Linked DNA regions of Homo sapiens: all the other regions are linked to region 3. The links are contacts of gene promoters, found by promoter capture Hi-C in human tissues and cell types (Jung and others, 2019). All regions are on one chromosome and are shown on one strand. Each heading gives the region's core, a stretch centred on a gene start or on the middle of the fragment in contact. The rest is flanking DNA. Distances are from core to core; before and after follow the strand shown.

Region 1 (6,262 bases), core at 44-2,543, 290 kb before region 3:
CCGTAGCTCTTCCTTGAGGTTCCAGCCCCGCCCTCTGGCTCCTCCCCGACACTCTCTCCCCGCCCCAGGCTCCGCCCCGAGATTGCAGCCCAGTCCCTAGGCCCGGTCCCCGACCTCCGGGCCTTCCCGGACATCCCTTTCCAGCTGCGCGTTCGGAGTATCCCGGAGCTGTTACTCATTCCCGGCCTCCCGCGGTCTCGAGCGCTTTCCGGGTTATTCATCGCGGCCCCAACACCCTGTGGCCACCCGCCCTGACTCAGTTCCTTCTCGAATTCCTCGACCCAGAGCCCCCCACATTTTCCGGGGAAGTAAGTGAGAGTCGCCTCAGTGAGAGGGAAAGGTCCTGAGGGACAGTCCCGGGTCTCCAGCACTGGCTCTGCGCCGCTCAGTCAGCCTCCCTTTGGGCCTTTTGTAAAAGGGGGTCCTGTCCCCCCGTTTCTCAGAGGGGGAGACCCAGCAGCGTGGAGAGCGCTGGGGGGCGCTGCAGGGTCAGATCCTGCGTATTCAAGCACTGGCTGTGTGATTTTAGGCCAGTTATCTAACCTCTCTGTGCCCTAGTTTCCTCTGCGAAACGAAATTAATAAAGTCCCATCGCCTAGTTTGAAATTGCAAGGAAGAGGCTTCGAAGAACTCCATTTAAAAAAAGAACACTTGGGCCGGGCGCGGTGGCTCACGCCTGTAATCCCAGCAGTTTGGGAGGCCGAGGCAGGTGGATCATCTGAGGTCAGGAGATTGAGACCATCCTGGCTAACAGAGTGAAACCCGGTCTCCACTAAAAATACAGAAATTAGCCGGGCGCGATGGCAGGCGCCTGTAATCCCAGCTACCCAGGAGGCTGAGGCAGGAGAATCGCTTGAACCCGGGCGGCAGAGGTTGCAGTGAGCCGAGATCGCGCCACTGCACTCCAGCCTGGGCGACAGAGTGAGACTCTGTCAAAAAAAAAAAAAAAAAAAAAAAAGCACTCACTAAATTATGTAAAGCTAAATGCCTTTGCTCCACTAATATTTCCTTAGCTACTGAGTGCCAGGTACTGCGCCGCGTGGCGTTGCACAAAGCACGAGAATTACTATTATTTGATTAGGGAGGATGCTGAGGACTGAACCGCATTCCTCCAACTCATCCTCTGACAACCCCCAACCCCCTCAATTAGACCCTGTTCCAGGCGCAGGCGTTCGGGACCCAGCCCCTACCTGGGACGCAGGTGTGGAGCAGCAGCAGCAGCGGCAGCAGCGGCGGGTGACCCATGTCGCGAGGGCAGCTCCTGTGCGCGGGGTCCCTGCACGTCTTCTCTCCTTCTGGCCTCAGGAAGGAGGCAGTTTTGTGGCCCCAGGGACTCCTCCCAGACGTTTTGCGAAAGAGCGAGTCAGCCCCAGATGCGTGGGCGCCTCCCCCTCCTCCCGTACGAACCTCCTCCGCCACAAACTTCCCTTCCCGGGGCGCGGCCGGCTGGTGGTGAAGGGGCTGGCTCGGCCCTGACTCATGGAGTTGTGATCACAGCTCTGTCCCCAGATTGCCTGGGTGCAAATCCCAGTTCTCTCTCTTCCTAACGTGGGACCCGGGGCAATCGCTCTCCACTGCTGTAAAATGAGGATAAAAACTTTGACGGTAAATATGAATGTGGCTGATTATTTGGCTAACAGGATTTTTGTTAGTTTTGTCAGGAGGGATACTGGTATTTTGGAAAATGTCCTTATCTAGAGATGCATCCTGAAATATGCATCTCTTAAACACTTAAAACACTTAACCCTTGCTTTGCTTCCCGCTGTGCCCCCAGCTCCTGGACCAGTGCCCAGCACGAAGTAGGTCCTTGGTAAATGTTAAAGGAATGTGTTGAGCCCTCCATTTTGGCCAGCAGCTATTCCAGGCATTGCACCTACATTAAAACACTTAATGGTGAAACCCCGTCTCTACTAAAAATACAAAAATTAGCCGGGCGTAGTGGCGTGTGTGTGTTACTTAGGAGGCTGAGGCAGGAGAATCGCTTGAACCCGGGAGGCGGAGGTTGGGTTGCAGTGAGCCGAGATCGTGCCACTGCACTCCAGCCTGGCAACAGAACAAGACTCCTTCTCACAGAAAAAAAAAAAAAAAAAAAAAAAGACACTTCAGCCAAAAAAGTAGATATCACTGTTACGACAATGGCTGTATGCTTAGGTGGGATTCTGGTTTTTGTTTGTTTGTTTGTTTTTGCAGATGCTTACTAGAGTATTTAGTGGTGAATGTTATTGATGTCTGCATTTTTTGTTGTTGTTGTTTTGGGGATTTTTGTTTTGTTTTTTCTTTTTCTTTTGTTTTCATTTTGATGTCTGTATTTATTTTATAATATTTTAGAAGAGGTCAGATGAGGTGGCTCATGCCTGTAACACCAATGCTTTGGGAAGCCAAGGCAGGAGGATCACTTGGGGCCAGGAGTTCAAGATCAGCTTGGGAAACATAAAGAGCCCTCATCTTTCCAAAAGAAATTAAAAATAAAATAAAATTAGCTGGGTGCAGTGGCCCGTACTTGTAGTCCTAGGTAGTTGGGAGGCTAAGGTGGGAGGACCGCTTGAACCTGGGAACTGGAAGCTGCAGTGAGCTATGATTGCACCACTGCACTCCAACCTGGGCAACAGAGCGAGACCCTGTCTCAAAAAAATAATAAATAAATAAATACTTGAGTAGAAAATAAAGGCAAAATAGCCAAATGGTTGTATCAATTATATAAAGGTAATCAGTATATAAGGGCATATTATGCCATTCTGTCTCCTTTTCTGTGGGTTTGAAAAGGCTTATAATAAGTTTTTTCTTTCTTTTTATTATTTATTTATTTATTTATTGAGACGAAGTCTCACTCTGTCACCCAGGCTAGAGTGCAGTGGTGCAATCTCGGCCACTGCAATCTCCGCCTCCTGGGTTCATGCAATTCTCCTGCCTCAGCCTCCTGAGTAACTGGGATTACAGGGGCACGCCAGCACACCCGGCTAATTTTTGTATTTTTAGTAGAGATGGGGTTTCACCATGTTGGTCAGGGTGGTCTCGAACTCCTGACCTCAGGTGATCCACCTGCCTTGTCCTTCCAAAGTGCTGGGATTACAGGCATGAGCCACTGCACCTGGCCAAGTTTTTTTTTTTTTTAAGTAAAATAAAATACTAAAGATAAAATTGTCTCCCCGTCTTAGGATGCATCTAACTAAACAGAGCAATTTAATGTAGGTGCAATGCCTGGAATAGCTGCTGGCCGAAATGGAGGGCTCAACACATTCCTTTAACATCTACCAAGGACCTACTTTGTGCTGGGCACTGGTCCAGGAGCTAGGGGCACAGCAGGACGCAAAGCAAAGTTCCCACCTTTTGTTGTGTTGACAGTGGGGAGCAGATATGTGTTATCTAATCTTTCACTGTCTGAGAGGGATAAGCAAACTGGAGAAAACAAAGCAGGCTGAAGGAAGTATCTGGGTGCAAATGAGGTGTGAGCTGTTTTAGGTGGGTGATCCAGGAGGGGTTCCCTGAGCAAGTGGCATTCAAGCAGAGGCTGAATGCAGTGAGGGAAGAAGTAGGGCAGATGGGCAGGGAACCTTTCCAAGGAGCAGGAACAACCAGTGCAAAGGCCTTGAGGTGGAAGCCTGATGAGATTCTAGGAACAGAAGAGATGTCAGTGTGGCTGGAACAGATTAGGAGAGGAAGAGAGTCGTAGGGGATGAGTAAGTGGTAGCTACTTCTACTGCTGTAATAATGATTATACTATGTGATTTGTTGTCGTTGTTGTTGTTGTTTTTGAGACAGAGTCTCACTTTGTCTCCCAGGCTGGATGCAATGGCGTGGTCTCGGCTCACTGCAACTTCCACCTCCCAGGTTCAAGGGATTCTCATGCATGCCTGGCTATTTTTTTTTTTTTTTTGAGTCGGAGTTTCTTTCTTGTTACCCAGGCTGGAGTGCAATGGCACGGTCTCGGCTCACTGCAACTTCTGCCTCCCAGGTTCAAGAGGTTCTCCTGCCTCAGCCTCCTGAGTAGCTGAGATTACAGGCATTCTCCACCATGCCTGGCGAATTTTTTGCATTTTTAGTAGAGATGGGGTTTCACCATGCTGGCCAGACTGGTCTTGAACTCCTGACTTCAGGTGATCCACCCGCCTCAGCCTCCCAAAATGCTGGGATTACAGGCTTGAACCACTGCGCCCAGCCCTAATTTTTGTATTCTTAGTAGAGATGGGGTTTCGCCATGTCGGCTAGGCTGGTCTCGAACTCCTGACTTCAGATGATCAACCTGCCTCAGCCTCCCAAAGTGCTGGGATTACAGGGGTGAGCCACCGCACCCGGCCCTAATTTTTGTATTGTTAGTAGAGATGGGGTTTCACCATGTCTGCCAGGCTGGTCTCTAACTCCTGACTACAGGTGATCCACCCACCTTGGCCTCCCAAATTGCTGAAATTACAGACATGAGCTACCGCTTCCAGCCTGTACTATGTGATTCTTACTAACTCATTGAAGCTGTAAGCTAATGATTTTAAGATAAGGTTAGAAAACAAAAAACAAAAAAACTCCCAATGGTGAGCACAGTGGTTCATGCCTATAATCTCAGCACTTTGGGAGGCGAAGGCTGGAGGATTGCTTGAGCTCAGGGGTTCGAGACCACCCTGGGCAACATAGTAAGACCTTGTATCTATAAAAAAATAAAATTACAGCCTGGACAACATAGCGAGACCTTGTCTCTATGAAAAATAGAAAAATTAGCCAGGTGTCGTGGTGCACACTTGTGGTCTCAGCTACTCTCTGGTTGAGGTGGGAGGATCACTTGAGCCCCAGGGGTTTGAGGCTGCAGTGAGCCAAAATCGAGCTACTGAACTCGAGCCTGGGCAACAAAAGTGAGACTGAAAAAAAAAAAAAAAAGAACTCCCAGAGAATTTCCTAAGAGGTAGTATAGCCCAATGGTTAAGAGTGTGGGAGCTGGTCTCAGATTGTGAAAATCTAAATTGCATCTACATATTGGCTGTGTCACCTCTAGCAGGTTACTTAATCTATCTCTGTGCCCAAGCCCCTTATCTGGAAAGTAGAGATAGCAAGTATCACCCTCCCAGGGCTGGTGTACTGCGGAGGTAAAAGAATCCACCTAAAATGACTGAGCATGGTGGCTCATGTCTATAATACCAGTGCTTTGGGAGACCAAGGCAGGTGGATCACTTGAGGTCAGGAGTTCAAGACCAGCCTGGCCACCATGGCAAAACCCTGTCTCTACTAAAAAATACAAAAAAATTAGCTAGGTGTGGTGGCATGCACCTGTAGTCCCAGCTACGCAGGAGGCTGAGGCACGAGAATTGCTTGAACCTGGGAGGCAGAGATTGCAGTGAGCCGAGATCGCACCACTCCACTCCAGCCTGTGCGACAGAGCTAGACTCCATCTAAAACAAACAAACAAACAAACAAAAAGAAGAATGCTCCTAAGATGCTTGCCACAGTGCCTGGTACATAGTATGTGCTCAATAAAAGCGATAGCTGCCAGTATTATCATTGTTGCAACTCTGGACATTCACCTCTTCCTGGAGTAGGAAGGGAGATGGAGGCCTGTCATTGAGTCTGACGTCAACAGTTATCACGCGTCAGCTGCTGAAGTGGGCACTTCCCTGGCTGGGTCACCCTGGGCCAATGACATTCTTCTTTCTGAGCCTCAGTTTTCTCAGCTGGAGAAGGGGATCCCTCTTGGGCTGGTGTGAAAACTAAACTAGATCGGAATGTACATGAGGTGGGGAAATAGACAGTTGGGGTGTTGGTCCAAGCAGGCTTGAGACCCAGCTCAGCCACTTGCTTCTGGGTGACCCTGGGCAGATGGCTTCACTCCATCAATCCCCGGCTTTGCCACCTATGAAATGGGTCTGGGGTGGGTAGGGGGCATCTCTCAGTGAAGAGAAAACTCAGGTTTGAGGGTCATGCGGAGCTGTGTGCTGTGCTGCTACCACTTCCTGGTGGGATGACCTCACTTCTCTAAGCCACAATTTCCCAATTTCCCTTTTTTTTTTTTTTTTTTTTTTTTTGAGACAGAGGCATGATCATAGCTCACTGCTGCCTTGAACTCCTGGGCTCAAGCGAAACTCCCACTTCAGCCTCCTGAGTAGTTGGGACCTAGGGGTGTGCACCACCATGCCTGGCTATTTTCTCATATTTCGTGTTTTTTGTAGAGATGGAGCCTTGGTCTGTTCCCCAGGCTGGTCTTGAACTGCTGGGTTCGAGTGATCCTCCCGCCTTGGCCTCCCAAAGTGGTGGGATTACAGGTGTGAGCCACTATGCTCAGCCA
Region 2 (5,514 bases), core at 1-2,500, 430 kb before region 3:
AAGGAAACTCCTTAAATGCTGTTGACTTAGGAGTTCCGCCAGTGCCCCACCTGCCCAGAGCCTCTTGCCCCAGTGCCCCACCTGGGTTTATGGTGCCCCCCTCCCAGAAATATGAGCTCAGGGGTCAGAAACCCAGGTCCTGAGGTCCCTCCTCCCCAAGGACTCAGGATCCCAGGCCCCCAGTCCCCTCTTCCCTTAAGTTTAAGAAGTCCAGGCCACCACCCTCTTGGGGACCCAGCACCCAACTCACGAAGCGCCCGAAGCGGATGGAGTCTCCATCCTCAATGTGTAAGTCAGCCTGGGCCCCACTAAGGCGGGAGATGACAGACTGGCAGCCAGGGAGGAGGGAACGGAGCAGCCCCGAGCCTGTAATGTGGTCCGCGTGGCAGTGGGTATTCACTGGGAGAGAGAGGAGGGACAGGTCCGGAGGGTACAGAAAGGACCTGGGAGTCCCAGCCCAGATCCTTCTCCCTCAGACTCAGGAGTTCTGGGCCCCAGCTTCCCATTCCACTGACGCTGCAGCCCAGCCCCGCTGGGATCCATGAGTTTGGTCCCCGGACTGACCAGCATAGAGCAGCCGCAGCCCCAGCTCCTTGATCAGCTGGGCATCCCGAGGCGCTGTTTCCAGGACTGGGTCGATCAGAACGGCCTCCCGGGACTCTCTGTCACCCAGCAGGTACGTGAAGGTGCAGCTCACAGGCTCGAACATCTGGGAACGGGGGACCCAGGTGAGGGCGCAGAACCGGACTTCCACCCACTGGAGGCCAAGTAGTCCAGACTGACCCTATCCTCTTCCTAAGATCCAGAAGCAGAAACCCCAGCCCACTCTTTCCCCGGGAGTCGGGAGTCCGGAGCCCCACTACCTTCCCCTATCAGAACAAAAGAGTTCCAACTTCCTAACATCCCAAAATCAGGGTCCCCAGCACGTTCTTTCATAGAGGACCCAGGGGTCTGGCCCCAAGCCCAGAGGCCCCCAGACCACTCACCTTTAAAGGACCCAAGAGTCCAGCCCTAAACCTCCACCCCGCTTTCCGCAAGATGCAGGCGTGGGTCCCCCCGGATCTCTCCCTATTAAGAGACCCCGGAGTTCCGTCCTTGCTGCCGCCTAGTGCCCAGCAGTCCCCTCCTAGGTCCAGCCACCCGCACCTGCCGCAGGAGGATGGGGGCTCCAGACCCGCCGCGCTGGCTCAGCTGCCGCCGGGCGACCCTCAGTACAGCCTCCGCCATCGCGCCCACTGCGGGGTCAGGAATGAGCGGAGGCCGAGCGCCTGCAGGAGCCGGGCGCTACGGCACTGACCCCGGGAAGGGCGGGGCGGGGGCGGAGCACGCCTTAAAGGGGCCACGGACGCCTGGGGCAGAGGGCGGGGGACCGCCGAGCGGGACTGGGGCGAGGGCGAGACCGAGGAAAGCCAGAGTGCAATGCCTGGACGCTTTGAGACCCAGAAAAAACAGAGAACAGGGAGACACTCAAAGTGCGAGGGACAGACGCTCAGAGACACACAGACATACTCATGTAGGAACAGAGATAGGGAGAGAAGTAGAAACCCAGGGAGAGGCCCCAGTACACTCATAGCCTCGGGGCCGTTTTTTTTCCTTTTTCTTTTGTTTTATTTTGAGACAGAGTCTCGCTCTGTCACGCAGGCTTGAGTGCAGTGACTCGATCTCAGCTTACTACAGCCTTAAACTCCCGGGTTCAAGCGATCCTCCAACCTCAGCCTCCCGAGTAGCTGGGACTATGGCACGTTGCCACCACACCCGACATTTTATATATATATATTTATATCTATATATATATTTATATACATATATATATATACACACACACACACACATACATGTATATAAAATTTGTTTTTTGCAGAGACGGAGTTCTCACTATGTTGCCCAGGCTGATCTCGAACTCCTGAGCTCAAGCGTTCCTCCCACCTTGTCCTCCCAAAGTGCTGGGATTACAGACGTGAGCCACCGCGTCCCGTGGGGCCGTTTTCTAGCAGGTGGTAGGATAGTCATGGTTAGAAAAAGATGTTCGGTTCCGGGAGGCAGAGGTTGCAGTGAGTAGAGATGACGCCACTGCACTCCAGCCTGGGCGACAGAGGGAGACTCTGTCTCAAAAAAAAAAGATATTCGTTCGGTTCCAGGTCATTAATATCTTGAGGGACTTTTGAGTGGGTGCCTGGTTACCAGAACAACACTTGATCCCATTAAAGTTCATCCAGAAATTGCATAAGCATTTTATCAGGAATGTTTCTCTCTTTCCAGGAAGAAATCTTAAAAAAAAAAAAAAAGATAATTTTGCATTATCTCTTGAATAATCAGATTGGGGATTATTCATCTTCTGTTGGGGTGTGAACCTCTGAAAAGAGCTTGTGTTCATTTACACCAAGGACCTGGGGCTGAAAAACTGTAGTCTCAAGTCATGAGCTGTCAGAAAGTCTGCTCTTTGTAATCGTAGCAGTAGTGAGAATAGGACATCCCACTCTCATCTGGAGGATCTATGTCACTTTGTGACATCAGAGCAGCCTTGATTTCCAGCCTAGGGGCAGAGCTTTTTTTTTTTTTTTTAATTGTTAGAATTTTTTTTGTAGAAACAGGGGTCTTGCTATGTTGCCTAGGCTGGTCTCCAGCTCCTGGCCTCAAATGGTCCTCCCACCTGGGCCTCCCAAAATGCTGGGATTACAGGTATGAACCACTGAGTTATCCTGTCCCACAGCTTCTGAGGAGGGGTTTCCTGCAACAACATTTATCTTAATTCTGGAGTTTCCAGGGAATGGTCCCTGGAGCTATTTTCAGAGCAGCCCCTGTGTGAATGCCTTTACACAGAGAAGGCCTGCTTTTCCTTAAGCCTATCAAATTGCTTCATTAAAATTTTATGTGGCCGGCTGGGCGCGGTGGCTCATGCCTGTAATCCCAGCACTTTGGGAGGCTGAGGCGGGCGGATCACGAGGTCAGGAGTTCAAGACCAGCCTGACCAACATGGTGAAACACCATCTCTACTAAAAATATAAAAATTAGCTGGGTGTGGTGGTGCACACCTGTTATCCCAGCTACTCAGGAGGCTGAGGCAGGAGAATTGCCTGAACTCGGGAGGTGGAGGTTGCAGTGAGCTGAGATCGTGCCACTGCATTCCAGCCTGGGTGATGGAGACTCCATCTCAAAAAAAAAAAAAAAAAAAAAAAAAAAGCATATGGCTGAGCTCATGCACAGGCACTTTGAGCACTTTGGGAGGCCTAGGTGGGCAGATCACTTGAGGTCAAGAGTTTGAGACAGCCTGGCCAACATGGTAAAACCCCATCTCTACTGAAAAAAATAAAATAAAATACAAAAAAATTATCTGGGCGTGGTGGGGCACGCCTGTAGACCCAGCTACTTGGGAAGCTGAGGCATGAGAATCATTTGAACCCAAGAGGCAGAGGTTGCAGAGTTTGCAGTGATCCAAGATTGCACCTCTGCAACATAGCAAAACCCTGTCTGGGCAACAGAGCGAGAGTGTCTAAAAAAAAAAGGCCAGGTGCGGTGGCTCACGCCTGTAATCCCAGCACTTTGGGAGGCCAAGGCGGGTGGATCACGAGGTCAGGAGATTGAGACCATCCTGGCTAACACGGTGAAACCCCGTCTCTACTCAAAAAAAATACAAAAAATTAGCCGGGCATGGTGGCGGATGCCTGTAGTCCCAGCTACTCTCGAGGCTGAGGCAGAAGAATGGCGTGAACCCGGGAGGCGGAGCTTGCAGTGAGCCGGGATCGTGCCACTGCACTCCAGCCTGGACGACAGAGCGAGACTCCGTCTCAAAAAAAAAAAAAATTCCAGGCATGAGGTCTCATGCATGCCTGACTCAAGCTAGACAAAGCTGAGGACCCAGAGGTGACTCAGTCTGGCTGGTAGGCGAGAGAGGTAGGGAAAGCAGGTCTGAGACACAGGGAGGTGTAGGGATTTGGGGAACTCAGGGGAGGGAGGAGCCAGGGAAAGGAAGACCCTCAGGCACTCCTTACTGAGAGGGTCCCCCAAATAAGAACTTCTCGCCCCTGGCACCCTTTCCCGTTGTTTTTGCAGAATTTCTAGACCATTTATGTGTCCTTTGAAGACACACCCTAGGCAGGGTTTATAGGCTCAGCTGTGAGATGTTCTAAGAGTTAGACTTGGCTTCACCCTTCTCAGGTGTAGGACCTTGGGCTGAAAACTTATCTTCTTCTGGGTTCCAGTTTTCTTATCTACAAAATGAGGTTGAAAATAGTTCAATAGCCTGACATAGCACAGGCTCTCAATGGGAACTGCCCATCATTATTTTGTCACTATCCTTGACTCCTTCCTACCCTTGCCACCTCCACCCACTTCCAGGCCCTGCTGAGTTAAACTCTCTCTCTTTTTTTTTTTTTTTTTTTTTGAGATGGAGTCTTGCTCTGTTGCCCAGGCTAGAGTGCGGTGGTGCAATCTCAGCTCACTGCAACCTCCGCCTCCTGGGTTCCAGAGATTCTTCTGCCCCAGCCTCCCAAGTAGCTGGGATTACAGGTGCACACCACCACACCCAGCTAATTTTTGTAGTTTTAGTAAAGATGGGGTTTCACCATGTTGGCCAGGCTGGTCTGGAACTCCTGACCCCAAGTAATCCACCTGCCTCAGCCTCCCAAAGTGCTGGGATTACAGGGCCGAGCCACCGTGCCCAGCCAGATTTAACCTATCTTAACCAGGCCACTTTTCTGTTATCACACCCTCTGCCCCATTCAAGGGGCAGCAAAGCATAAATGCAAATTGCCTGGACTGCAGGGCCAGGCTGAGGGATTCAAATCCTGGCTCTGATACTTCCTGGCTGGGATGACCTTCCCCTCCACACTTCATTTTCCTCCTCTGTACAAGGATGATAGTAGCACCTCCTCTTAAAACATTGCTATGGGGATTAAATAAATTAATGCACATAAGGACAGTTTCCAGTGTATAATAAGTGCTAGCAATTAATACTGTAATTAATATATAACAATACCCTCACTGGTCTTCTGGCTTCTACTCTGCCTTCTTAAAATCATGGTTCTTGAAAATAGCTGTGGCCCTAGAGGTTGGGCGCGGTGGCTCACACCTGAAATCCCAGCACCATGGGAGGCCGAAGTGGGCGGATCACCTGAGGTCAGGAGTTTGAGACCAGCCTGGCCAACATGGTGAAACTCCATCTTTACCAAAAATACAAAAAAAAAAAAAAAAATTAGCCAGGCGTGGTGACGGGCACCTGTAATCCCAGCTACTCAGGACGTTGAAGCAGGAGAATCACTTGAACCTGGGAGGTGGAGGTTACAGTGGGCTGATATCTCGCCACTGCACACCAGCTTGGGTGACAGAGCAAGACTCCGTGCAAAAAAAGAAAGAGGTGGGCACAGTGGCTCACCCCTGTAATCCCAGCACTTTGGGAGGCCAAGACGGGTGGATCACGAGGTCAGGAGATCGAGACCAGCCTGGCCAACATGGTGAAACCCTGTCTCTACTAAAAATACAAAAATTAGCTGGGTGTTGTGGTGAACACCTGTAATC
Region 3 (6,151 bases), core at 1,312-3,811:
TAGATAAGACTATTGGGTTTTTGGTTGTTTTTTTTTTTTCACATCTCCTGTGTGTCTGCATCAGGTGTTTACCGTCTGTAATTGTTGCATCATGTATCACCATCTGTAATTGTTTCATAGTGAACTGTGGGTCCTACATAAACCCAAATATGCTCTTCAATGCAACATTTAAAACCAAAGATGCTGCTACTTAGTTTCTCTCACAATCCAGTTGAGTAAAGATTCCTTAAGAAGCTACAAAATAAACAATTCCTTCACACTGTACACTGTAGTTTCAGTTTCTTGGTTTTACCCTTCCCATACACTGATTGCCTTTTGGTAACCACAGGTCTTAGAGGTACTTACTGTTGTCCTGGTATATTTTTTCCCTTAGGGACAGCTTTGAGGCAAGTGGCTAAAGCTTAGATTCACTAAAATTCGAACTTGGTCAAGCATCAGAGTCCAACCCAGTCCTTTTAATTACATTTGATATAGTTTGGATGTTTGGTCCCTCCATATCTCCAGTGTTGGAGGTGGGGCCTAGTGGGAGGTGTTGGATCCTGGGGGTGGGTCCGTCATAAATGGCTTAGTGCTATCCCCTTGGTGATTAGTGAGTTCCTGCTCAGTTAGTTCATGTGAGATCTGGTTGTTTAAAAGAATTTGGGTCCTCCAATTTCTCTCTCTTGTTCCTGCTCTCACTTTGTGACATGCCTGCTCCTACTTCACCTTCTCCCATGAGTGAAAGCTCCCTGAGGCCTCACCAGAAGCTGAGCACATGCCAGCACCACATTTCCTTTACAGTCTGAATAAATGTAAGCCAGTGAAACCTCTTTTCTTTATAAATTACCCAGCCTCAGGTATTTTGTTACAGTGACACAGAAATGAACTAATACAGAAAATTGGTACTGAGGTGCAATGCATTGCTATAAAGATGCCTGAAAATGTGAAAGTGGCTCTGGAACTGGCTAATGGGCAGAGGTTGGAAAAAGTTTGGAGGGCTCAGAAGAAGATAAGAAGATGAGGGAAAACTTGGAACTTTTTTTTTTTTAACTTTTTCACTGAGCCATGGGAACTTCTTACAGACTGATTAAATAGCTGTGACCAAAATGCTGGTGGGAATATGGACAATGAAGTCCAGGCTGATGAGATCTCAGATGGAAATGAGGAAGTTATTGGGAACTGGAGTAAAGGTCACCCATGTTATGTCCTAGCAAAGAACTTTGCTGCTTTGTGTTCATGCCCTAGGGATTTCTGGAAGCTTGAACTTAAGAGTGATAACTTAGGGTACCTGGCAAAAGAAATTTCTGAGCAGCAAAGCATTCAAGAAGTGGCCTGGCTGCCTCACTGCTTCAAACAGCCTACAATTATATATGGGAGCAAAAAAATGACTTAAAGTTGGAATTTATATTTAAAAGGTAAGCAGAGTATAAAAGTTTGGAAAATTTGCAGCCTGGCCATTTAGTAGAGAAAGAAAAAGCATTTTTAGGAGAGGAATACATGTCGGCTGTGGAGCAACCACTCGCAAAAGAGATTTGCATGACTAACAGAAAGCCAAGTGGTAATATCTGAGACAATGGGAAAAAGACCTGGAAGACATTTCAGAAGTCTTCAGGAAAGTCCCTCCCATCACAGGCCTAGGGGCCTAGGAGAAAAGAATGGTTCCAAGGGCCAGGCCCAGGGACCCCCTGCCCTGAGCAGCCTCAAGACATTGTGCCCTGAATCCGGCCACTCTGGCTCCAGCCTCAGCTTAGAGTGCCCCAGGCGCAGGCTGGGTTGCAGCTCCAGAGGGTTCAAGCCTTGATAGTTGTGGTAGTTTCCACATTGTGTTAAGGCTGCAGATGCTCAGAATGCAAGCATGAAGGAGGCTTGGCAGCTTCTACCTAGATTTCAAAGGATGTATGAGAAAGCCTGGGATCCCAGTCAGAAGCCTGCCACAGTGGGGGAGCCCCAACAGAGAACCTCTACCAGGGCAGTGCCAAGGAGAAATGTGAGGGCTCCCCACAGAGTCCCCACTAGGGCACTACCTAATGGATCTGTGGTAAGGGGACCACTGCCCTCTGAGAAGTGGTCCTGAGACCACTGCTCAGTCATATCACTTGGCTGCCCAAGGCCTTGGGAGTCTATCTCTTATACCAGGATGTGGGACATGGAGTCAAGGATTATGTTGGAGCTTTAAGAGCCCTGGCTGGAGTACAGTAGCACAATCCTAACTTGCTGCAGCCTTTAACTCCTAGACTCAAGCTATCCTCCTGCCTCAGCCTCCCAAGTAGCTGGGATTACAGGCTCAAGCCACAGCACCTGCCTCTTCATATGCTCTTTACCCAAATTTTCCAATTATTTACATTTTGTATTTTGCTTTGTTAACACCCATCAGCCAAATACCACTGGGAACAAACTTATAATGAGAAACAACTTATTGTAGCTTTCTGCATCAAGGAACCCCACATAGCAAGGTGATCATGGAGTGTCTTGGTAAGAGGCATTTAGGAAGGGCTGGCTATAGAGTTTCATATAAGATGCTAGGTAGTATTAGATATAATATTAAGTAATATCACTATTAAATACTAGATATCAATTAAAAGACTATTAATATTAGTTAATTCTGTTACCTATTAGATATGGCTAGACACCATCATCTTTTCTATCCAAACTCCCATATTTAAATTTGTTGTGCTTTTTAAAGTTCTTGTAACTGTTTTCCCCCATCCCCCAGTCCAAAGTCCAATTTTATGTACTGCTTTTAGGTGTCACATTTCTGTAGTCTTCTTTAATCTAGAAAGATTCAACAGGCTTTGTCTTTTTATTCTTGACATCCTTGAAGTATATAGGCAAAGTATTTTATAGAAAGATAGTCATTTGGGATTTATGTATTTCATGTTTAGGTTCAGATTATGCATTGTTGGTGTGGATACCACAGAAGTGTTGAAGTGTCATAACAGGGGCCAAATGATGTCTGTTTTTCCCTTCATTGGAGATCTCAACTTTGTTCACTTGGCCAAGATGATATCTTTCAGATTTTTCCACTGAAAGGTTACTTTTTAATTAAATTTTGAAAATAAAAACGTTTCTTACGGGAGATACATTATTAGTGGGCATTATCCTGTAAAGATTAGCTTCCACTTCTCCCTGATTTATTAATCAGTTTCTTCAACTATAAATATTCTATCAATATGGACCCACAATCCAGTTAAATAACATGTAGATTAACTGTTATTATTTCCAACTTTATTGAGGTGTATTTTACATGTCATAGAATTTACCCATTTCAGTCGTACGATTTAATAATCTTCAGGAACTTTGAACAGTGGTGTGACCGTCATCATAATTCAGTTTAGATCATTTTCGCCCCCCAATTGGACTCCTTGTGCTTATGTACAGTTAAACCTCATTCTCACCTCAAATCTGGAGCAACCACTAACCTACTTTCTCTATATATACATTTGCTTATTCTGGATATTTTATAAAATTGAATTTTACAATCCATGGGGTTTTTAGACTGGCTTCTTTAACTTAGCATAATGTTTCCAAGGTTCATACATGTTGTAGCATGAGCCAGTTCTTCACTCCTTTGAATTTCCAAATAAAATTCTGTTGTATGGATATGCCATGATTTGTCTATTCATTTACCCGTAGGAGGGCATTTTGCTTGTTTGCAGTTTGGGGTTATGAGTAATGCTGCTATGAACATTCATGTGCTAATTGAAAATACTTGTCTATGTTGGTGGTCGGCATTCCTAGTTACCATTTCCTGTCTGTTTTTCTGCCTTTCCTGGCACTTTCCAGGCATGATTTCACCTTCACTTGAACTGCTTCATTCAGGACTCTGCAAATTCCCTGAAGTAGAAGGAAAAATGACCACATTCAAAGTGAGTAGGGCTTGCCTCTCTTGCTGTTAAAATTCCATCTTACTACTCATATTGTCACATTTTTATCTGTCTTGGGAAGACTCAAGGAGAACAACAAGCATTTGAGGGCATTTTGTTTGCCAGATGCTTCCTTTGCTGCTTTTGAATTGACTTTCCGTTTGGTTTTAGTTCTTGTTTTCTTACATAATTTCTTTTCTGTAGTAGATAAAATAGTAGGAATGGATAATTCTTTCACTTCACTACTTCTCTGCTCACAAATTAGCTGTTTTTATCTTGTATTCTTCATCATGTACATTCATAACTGTATTTTTATTGATGACATACCTCTAATTTTAAATTGTGCTCGTTTTATATAATATTATATAATGTTCCATTTTTATATTGGTATCATAGTCCCAATGAATTAATGTACCTTCTTATTTTTAACTACTTCACACTCATAGACATTTAGGTGGTTTAGGAATTTTACTGTTTTAAGCAACACTGCTGTGACAGCTTTCCTATATATAACCCCTTCCCCCCAAAATTAATTCTGAAAACAAGATAGGATACTTTTGACATGTATTACATTGGCTGTTTTATAGATGGTAGATTATTTCAACAGGGCACAGCACATGAGGCTCTGACTGCTACTTCCCACAAATATTGTTGTTGGAGTTTTCACACAGGAAGAGCTAGATTCTGTGTTTGCCATGCCTTACTCATACCTTGTATGCATGTTATTTATTGGTCTCTTCTTATTCCTTTATGGAGTAAGCAGTTTTACCAAAGTAGTAGGTACCTTCATTTGAAATGTCCAGTGATACTGGAAGATTGGCCAATCACTTGTGTTGTGTTACTATATTTACTCAGAGAAGCAGAATGCAGGTTTTAGTCTCATCTTCCTCTTAAACTCATAAAATATGAGAAATCTGCTCAGATTCACATAGGCAACCAAGGTCAGGAATGTTAGCCATTCTGCTCATTTATAATCAAATAAGTGAGAATGATATTAATACAATGAATTCTTCTTCCTAATCATATTACCGAAACCATGGGAATATTTACAACCTGCTCTTAACCATCATAAGGAGAATAAGGGTACTTGTGTTCACTCGGAAGAGTGGGAAGTAGGTAAAAAATTTGGAAGAAAGTATGAAATTATGTAATCACAATTTTAAATGTGTTTATTGACATTCTCATTTTCATTTGACATTATTTTAAATAATCAGGAGAATAAAGTCTATATAAAATTATTTTCTTTACAGGATTGATAATAAAAAATATTTAATATGAAGTATTCATTATTTAAATAAAAAGAGATCATTTTTGCCCTGGAATACTTTGCAGATATGAAATGAGATGAAATAAATAACAATAATGACAGTTATAATAAAAATAGATAATATTTATTAAATACTTAGTCTTTGCCACACAGTTTTCCCAATGCTATATATATTTCCTTCTTTAATCCTTGAAAAAACGATACCAGGTGAAAATCATTATACAGACAGGAAACTAATGCATGTAGGTGAGCTTGTCCAAAGCCACACATCTAGGAAGGGACAAAGCTTTGGGATGTGCTCTGAGGCATGATGGTTCCATATCATGACATTGAATGATGCAACTAATGTATGTAGTTTGTGCCTTGAGCATATAGAGGATGCAATGCATAGCTGTCCCACACAGGTCACCATATACTGGTTAGTTTGACAGATACTAAAGAAAAGTTAACAACATCCACAGTTTGAGTATGAAAGGAAGACAATGGAAGAGAGGAAGACAATGGAAATTATCAAAGTTGGGACTAAACTTCTAAATGTTACTGGGGCAATTGGCAACAACACACTAAAACCTAAATACCTGTAGCCCAGGAGGCAGCATGTAGAGTCCTAGAGGGCTACTTACAAGTAGACTCAATGACTGCACAAAGTAAAAGTACAGGACTTCTTTTATATCATTGCACTTCTGATGAAGCTCATGAAAATCTGCGTGTGTCATTGTCAGGATATAGGCAGAATGAGTGGGAAATCTGTATGTTGACCTACATCCCTCAAGATCTAGGACAACTTACCACACCTGTCCCCTTTGCCTACTTAGTGCCACCCTTCTTTGAATAATCATTGGTCATAAGATTTAGGTTTTGTATGTTGGATATTTTAGGAGGCAGTGACATTCAAGGATGTGGCTGTGGTCTTCACTGAGGAGGAGCTGGGGCTGCTGGACCCTGCCCAGAGGAAGCTGTACCGAGATGTGATGCTAGAGAACTTCAGGAACCTGCTCTCAGTAGGTGAGGACAGGCACCCTCTGTAACAGAATGTTAGGCC
Region 4 (5,778 bases), core at 348-2,847, 320 kb before region 3:
CCCTTCACGGTCTGAGCTGGCGTTCCCTTTCATGTCACTGAGTTCAACATCCTCACTTTACAGAAAGAGAAACAGAAGCCTGGAGAGAGGAAGGTGTTTACCATTGGCTGCGATGGCAAATGGCAAGAGCCAAGATTTAAGCCCAGGCCGCCAGCCCCATGCCACCTGGTTATAACTCCTCTCACCAATCTCTGCCGAACACCCAGCCCTCCTGCTTCTGCCTAGCCACCTTCCAATCCTCTGTTCCTTCCAAAAGTGGCCTTATCCACCAGGGAGGGGTGACCCGTGGCAGGTTCAAGACTTACACAGTGTGAGAGTGTGTGTGGGTGACATTTCCTGACCTTGTCCCCATTCTCAGGGTCACCCAACCTCGGGGGTCTCCAGCTTCTCACAGTGTGTGATGAGGGTATGTGGATGGCTCCCTGGATGTCCTGGACAGGGGCTTCTCTGTGAGTCAAGCCTGGGTGTGTGAATGGGTGAGCAGGGTTTGGAGAGGCATTCGCTGAATCCACGTGTGTGCCTACACGCCAAGGTCCCCCATTCTCACTTCCCCACACACATGCACACAGATGTTCCCCTCCAGGGCTCTTTAGAATGCCCTGCCTGACTGAATTCCTCTTCAGGGGCACAGAGGGATAGAGAGAGGGAGGAAGGTAGGATGGGAATGGGAGATCCCGGGATGGAGGCTGTAAGCGTAGAGAGAGGAGGCACAGCAGAAAGACAGGGATGGAGATAGTGGGACAGAGAAGGGGGAAAGAGACAGGTGACAGAAAGGGTTAGAGAAACGAGTGACAGAAAGACAGGGGACAGAGACAAGGGGATGGGGCAGATAGGGGACAGAGAAAAAGGGACAGAAAAACAAGGGTGACAGCGAGACAGAGACAGGGACCAAGAATAGGGGCAGAGAGGGAGGGCAGAAATCCGGGGGAAAGAGAATAGACAGGATGATGGAGGGGACAGAGTGACCCAGGAAAAGGGGACAGAGACCAGGGGACAGAGGTAGGGGACAAAGACAGAATAGATGAGGAACACCGAGGCAAGAAGAGAGGGAGACAGACAGAAGGAGGGACAGGACTTCGAGACTGAGGGATAGAGGACAAGGGTAGGGGGACGAGGAGCCAGACGGGGGGGTTCAGAGACGGGCGGACAGAGGGACGCAGAGACTGGACAGAAGGACAGCGGGACCGGCCTGGGGAGGGCGGACTTGTGTGTGTAGGGGGGTCTCGGGCCCTTTGTCCCCGCCGGGATCCAGCCTGCGCGGGTGGGGGGGCTGCGGCACGGCGGCCGGGCCCCGCGCCCCCTCCCCCGCTCGTCGCTCCCGGCTCCCGGCCCGCGCTGCGCTTTGTCCCGGGGAGGGGGCCCGGCCCGGCCCCGCGCGCATTGTTCGGCCTCTGCGGCCCCGAGGCTGCCGGGCTGTCACCACAGCGCGCCCCCCGCCCCAGCCCGGCCGGCCGACCCCGGCCCCCGACCCTACCTGGCCCCGCCGCGGCCGCCCACAGCAGCAGCAGCGGCCACTGGAAGCGCCGGGCCCGGCCCATGGTGCCGCCGCCGCCGCCGCCGCCGCTCGCTCCCGGCCCGGCACCTGCACCGCCCGCGCCGCCCGCCCCGCCCCCCGCGCCCCGCCCCCTGCCCGCCCGGGGGCGGGGCGCCGAGGCCGGGGCGGGGCCGGGGAGGGGAGGGGGAGACGGAGGAGAGGCCCGGAGACAATCGGGGGGACGGCACGGTGGGGGAACGGTGCGGGGTGCGAAAGCTGGAGAGGAGAGGGGTGAGGAGGGCGGGAAGGGGTGCGCGGGAGGGCGACAGCGGCGTGGGAGCAGGTGGGGGATCTCGGTGAGCGCGGGAAATGGAGGGTGTTGGGTGAGGGTGCTGCGTGCGGGCCCAGGTGCTGCGCGCGAGGGTGCGGAGTTGCTGGCATGCAGGGTGCTTGCGCTGCGCGGAGGGGAGGGTGGCAGGGTGTTGCTGGAGGCTGTGCGAGGGTGGGGGCGCGGGCGTCGTGGGGTGCGGTGTGTGCGAAGGGAGAGCGTGGCCAGCGTGACGGGGGAGCGTAAGGGAGGGAGTGCGACGTGGGAAAGGTGAGTGTGAGAGGCGTGCTGCGGGCAGGTGGGTGTCTGGAGTCTAGCGAGAGGCTGTGAGCTGAGCCACCGGGACAGGGGAGGCTGCAGCTGGAGGTCCGGAGGGTCCGGAGGTCGAGGCAGGTCAAGGATCTCCCAGGGCAGGGCGAGGCTGGGGCTCAGGAGTGGGGTGGGGTCAGTTCCCTCCCTCCCTCTCTCCTGTCCTGACCTGAAAACCCCGTGTTTCCGCGTCATTCTCCGGGAGGGGCCCCCTGAAAGTGAACTAACTGGAAGGAAGCCTGAATCCTGGGTCCCAGGAGGGAGAGGCTCCTGTGAACACCTTCCAAGCCCTGGCGTCCCCTCTCCTCCCTGCTGTCTCCCTGCCCCAGCCTCTCTCCCTCTCTCTGCATGTATTTGCCTCTGCCCTTCCTCTCTCCCCATCTTTGAGGGTGACTCACCCCTCCAGACTTAGGTCCCTTCTCCCTCCTGGGAGTGGGTTTCCCTGAGCCCACTTCTGTGACACCCTGTAGACCTGATGCGGGATCATTACCTATGGGACCCAGAAAGAGTGAGAAACCATGGAAAGAAGGCCTCGACCTCTCTCATGCCCATTTGTCAGGCAAACTGAGGTCCAGAAGTGCCAATTATGAACATCTTTCCTTCCCCCCTCCCCCCTCCCCGCCCAGACGGAGTCTCGCTCTGTTGCCCAGGCTGGAGTGCAGTGGCACGATCTCGACTCACTGCAACCTCTGCCTCCCAGGTTCCAGTGATTCTCCTGCCTCAGCCTCCCGAGTAGCTGAGATTACAGGCGCCCGCCACCATGCCTAGCTAATTTTTATATTTTTAGTAGAGACGGAGTTTTGCCATGCTGGCCAGGCTGGTCTTGAACTCCTTACCTCAGGTGATCCATCTGTCTGGCCTCCCAAAGTGCTGGATTACAGGCGTGAGCCACCATGCCTGGCTGAAAATCCTTACTTTTTATTCCGACTAAAAAATTTTACATCCAGTCCCACAAGGGACTTCAGCTTCACACACCCTTTCTGTCCTCAGTACCCAGCTCCCAGTATCCTTTCTGACCTCAAAACCATAGCTACCATCAACCCTTGTGTCCCAGGACCATGGCTCCCAGTGTCTTCTCTGTCCTCAGGGTCCAAGCTCCCATCAACTCCTGTGTCCTCAGGACCACGGCTCCCAGCATCCTCTCTGTCCTTCAGGTCCAAGCTCCCATCAACCCCTGTGAAGCAGGACCATGGCTCCCAGCATCCTCTCTGTCCTCAGGGTCCAAGCTCCTATCAACTCCTGTGTCCCCAGGACGATGGCTCCAGCAATCCTCTCTGTCCTGAGAGCCCAAGCTTCTAACTGCCCCTGTGTCCCCAGATCCATAGCCCTGAGCAACTTCCTTCTTTTTCAGTCCTCAGCTTCCCAGCTTCTGTAGACTTGGGAAGAGATAGTCTCTAATCCTCTTTCCAGGGCTCACATTCTGTGACTTTTGCTAGATGGGAGAGGAATGTTTGATCTGCCTTTGGAATACTGGTCCAAGGGGTAACTAGTAGTTGCCTTTTCCCGCAGGAGCCAATAGGCCCGCTCACTCTGTGCTCTGACAGATGTCTCCTGCTCCAGCTGAAGGGGAACCTTGGGAGATGTTGGTTTGGTTCTCACCTGTCATCCTTAAGTCCCACCATTCCATGTGAAGACATCACAAGAGTAGTGGTCCTGACGGGCGCGTTGGCTCACACCTGTAATCCCAGCACTTTGGGAGGCCAAGGTGGGCCGATCACTTGAGGTCAGGAGTTTGAGACCAGCCTGACCAACCGGCCAACATGGTGAAACACCATCTTTACCAAAAAAAAAAAAAAAAATTAGCAAGGCGTGGTGGCACGTGCCTGTAATCCCAGCTGGTCGGAAGGCTGAGGCATGAGAATCCCCTGAACTTGGGAGGCAGAGGTTGCAGTGAGCTAAGATCATGCCACTGCACTCCAGCCTGGGTGACAGAATGAGACTCAGTCTAAATAATAATAATAATAATAATAATAATAATAATAATAATAATAAATAGAATAGTGGTCCTGTCCCCATCCTACTTCAGGGTACCCTGTCCATTAGGGATTTAGTGCAAGTGACAGCAAGTGCAACCCAACTGGTTTGAGAGAAAGAGAACTGGTTCACACATAACAAAAAGTCCTTCTATGGCTGGCTTTGGCGAGGTCTGTCAATCTCTGTCCTAAGGATGCATGGCTCCCCTCCTGTAGCAAGATGGCTGGCAGATACCCCTGGGGCCAGATTCATATTTGGGGTGATTAAGATTCTGCAAGAGAGAGACAACCTTTATTTCACACAGCTTTTCAATTGTTGCCTGTCCCTGGTGAGACTCGGAGACCTAGCTCTTGCCTGGTTTCTAAACTTTCAATAACACCGTTTTTGCTTAAGTCAGCACAAACAGATTTTATTTCTTGCAAGCAAAGATTCCTGAACAACAACTTCAGAGCCGTTAACAATGAGGTCCTGATCACAAGCTATGGTATAGGACGTGAGAAATTTGTCCCTAGCCTCAATATCTGCTGGAGGGCATCATGGAATAAGTATTTCTATCCTCTGATCCCCACTGTAGGGCATCATGGGATATATAATCCTAACCTTCAATCTCTGCCATAGAGTTTCATAGGCAATGCAGTCCTAGCCTCAATATGTTGTAGGGAATTATGGGAAAGGTGAAATTATCCTCAATTATAATACAGAGCATCTCAGAAAATGTCGTTTTAGCCTCATCTCTGCTGTAGGGCATCATGGGAGATATACTTCTGGCCCAATTTTTGTTGTAAGTTGCCATAGAAGATGCAGTCTTTCCTTCCTTCCCTTTTTTCTTTTCTTTCTTTCTTTCTTTTTTTTTTTTTTTATTATGTAGAGACAGGGTCTCTCGCTATGTTGCCCAGGCTGGTCCTGAACTCCTGGGCTCAAGCAGTTCTCCTGCCTTGGCCTCCCAAAGTGCTGGGATTACAGGCAAGAGCCATTGCACCCAGTCCCTTCTCTCCTTTCTTTCTTCATCACCTGCCATATTCCAGGCACTAGGAATAAATCATCAAGTAAATAAACGGCCTTACCCTCCCTGGCAATTATAATGGGGAAAGTTAGCTAAAAACAAACAAAAATTACTGTTCCATTTAACCATCGCTGAATAACAAAATACCCCAGAACGTAGTGGTGTGAAACAACAACCTTTTAATTTTATGATTCTGTGAGTCAGGAATTGGAGCAGGATTGGTGTGTATCTGCTTCATGATGAACTGGAGCCAAAAATGAACTAGCTGGAACAGCTGGAGATGGAGGGGAGGGGCATCAAGGGCCATATATCTAAGGCTGGTGGTTGGTGTTGTGGGTTTTGAATAGTGTCCTCCAAGTAAAATATATGTTGAAGTTCTAGCCCCTGGTATCTGTACATGTGACCTTATTTGGAAATAAAATCTTTGCAAATGTAATTCACTTTTTTGTTTGTTTGTTTGTTTGCTCGAGACTGAGTCTCGCTCTGTCACCCAGGCTGGAGTGCAGTGGCATGATCTCGGCTCACTGTAACCTTCACCTCCTGGGTTCAAGCGATTCTCCTGCCTCAGCCTCCCAAGTAGCTGGGATTATAGGCACGTGTCACCATGCCCAGCTAATTTTTGTATTTTCAGTAGGGACGGGGTTTCACCATGTTGGCCAGGCTGGTCTCGAACTCCTGACCTCAAATGAT

The links. The method cuts DNA at HindIII sites, captures the fragments that hold promoters and counts their contacts. A contact is called where the count stands out against the background at its distance.
Region 1: a contact is called between the fragment with the promoter of PLAUR here and a fragment that was not itself captured in region 3, in 2 of the 25 tissues and cell types used here (IMR-90 fibroblasts and dorsolateral prefrontal cortex).
Region 2: the fragment with the promoter of ETHE1 here is called in contact with a fragment that was not itself captured in region 3 in 1 of the 25 tissues and cell types used here (spleen).
Region 4: a contact is called between the fragment with the promoter of CADM4 here and a fragment that was not itself captured in region 3, in 5 of the 25 tissues and cell types used here (H1 embryonic stem cells, IMR-90 fibroblasts, aorta and 2 more).

Annotation. Positions count from the first base shown.
Region 1 is chr19:43,668,876-43,675,137 of GRCh38, forward strand. It overlaps PLAUR (plasminogen activator, urokinase receptor), which reads right to left and starts at 1,294. Exons shown (of 7, transcript NM_002659.4): 1 at 1,191-1,294. The coding sequence starts at 1,245. It overlaps LOC124904724 (a long non-coding RNA gene), which reads left to right. Exons shown (of 3, transcript XR_007067264.1): 1 at 1-308; 2 at 1,151-1,605. RefSeq lists silencers at 1-22, 63-142 and an enhancer at 1,063-1,362. The HindIII fragment of the contact is 20,050 bases long and covers 1-6,262 here.
Region 2 is chr19:43,525,951-43,531,464 of GRCh38, forward strand. ETHE1 (ETHE1 persulfide dioxygenase) reads right to left here and starts at 1,251. Exons shown (of 7, transcript NM_014297.5): 1 at 1,147-1,251; 2 at 565-709; 3 at 251-399. The coding sequence starts at 1,227. It also overlaps a transcript of ZNF575 not described here. RefSeq lists enhancers at 1-402, 403-907, 423-602 and silencers at 1,213-1,402, 5,205-5,376. The HindIII fragment of the contact is 5,540 bases long and covers 1-5,210 here.
Region 3 is chr19:43,958,963-43,965,113 of GRCh38, forward strand. ZNF221 (zinc finger protein 221) reads left to right here. Exons shown (of 5, transcript NM_001297588.2): 2 at 3,763-3,845; 3 at 5,988-6,114. The coding sequence starts at 3,765. Among named protein-coding and RNA genes, the nearest start is that of ZNF221, 11 kb to the left of the region's middle. The HindIII fragment of the contact is 7,430 bases long and covers 1-6,151 here.
Region 4 is chr19:43,638,253-43,644,030 of GRCh38, forward strand. It overlaps CADM4 (cell adhesion molecule 4), which reads right to left and starts at 1,598. Exons shown (of 9, transcript NM_145296.2): 1 at 1,475-1,598. The coding sequence starts at 1,538. RefSeq lists a silencer at 1,482-1,621. The HindIII fragment of the contact is 16,381 bases long and covers 1-5,778 here.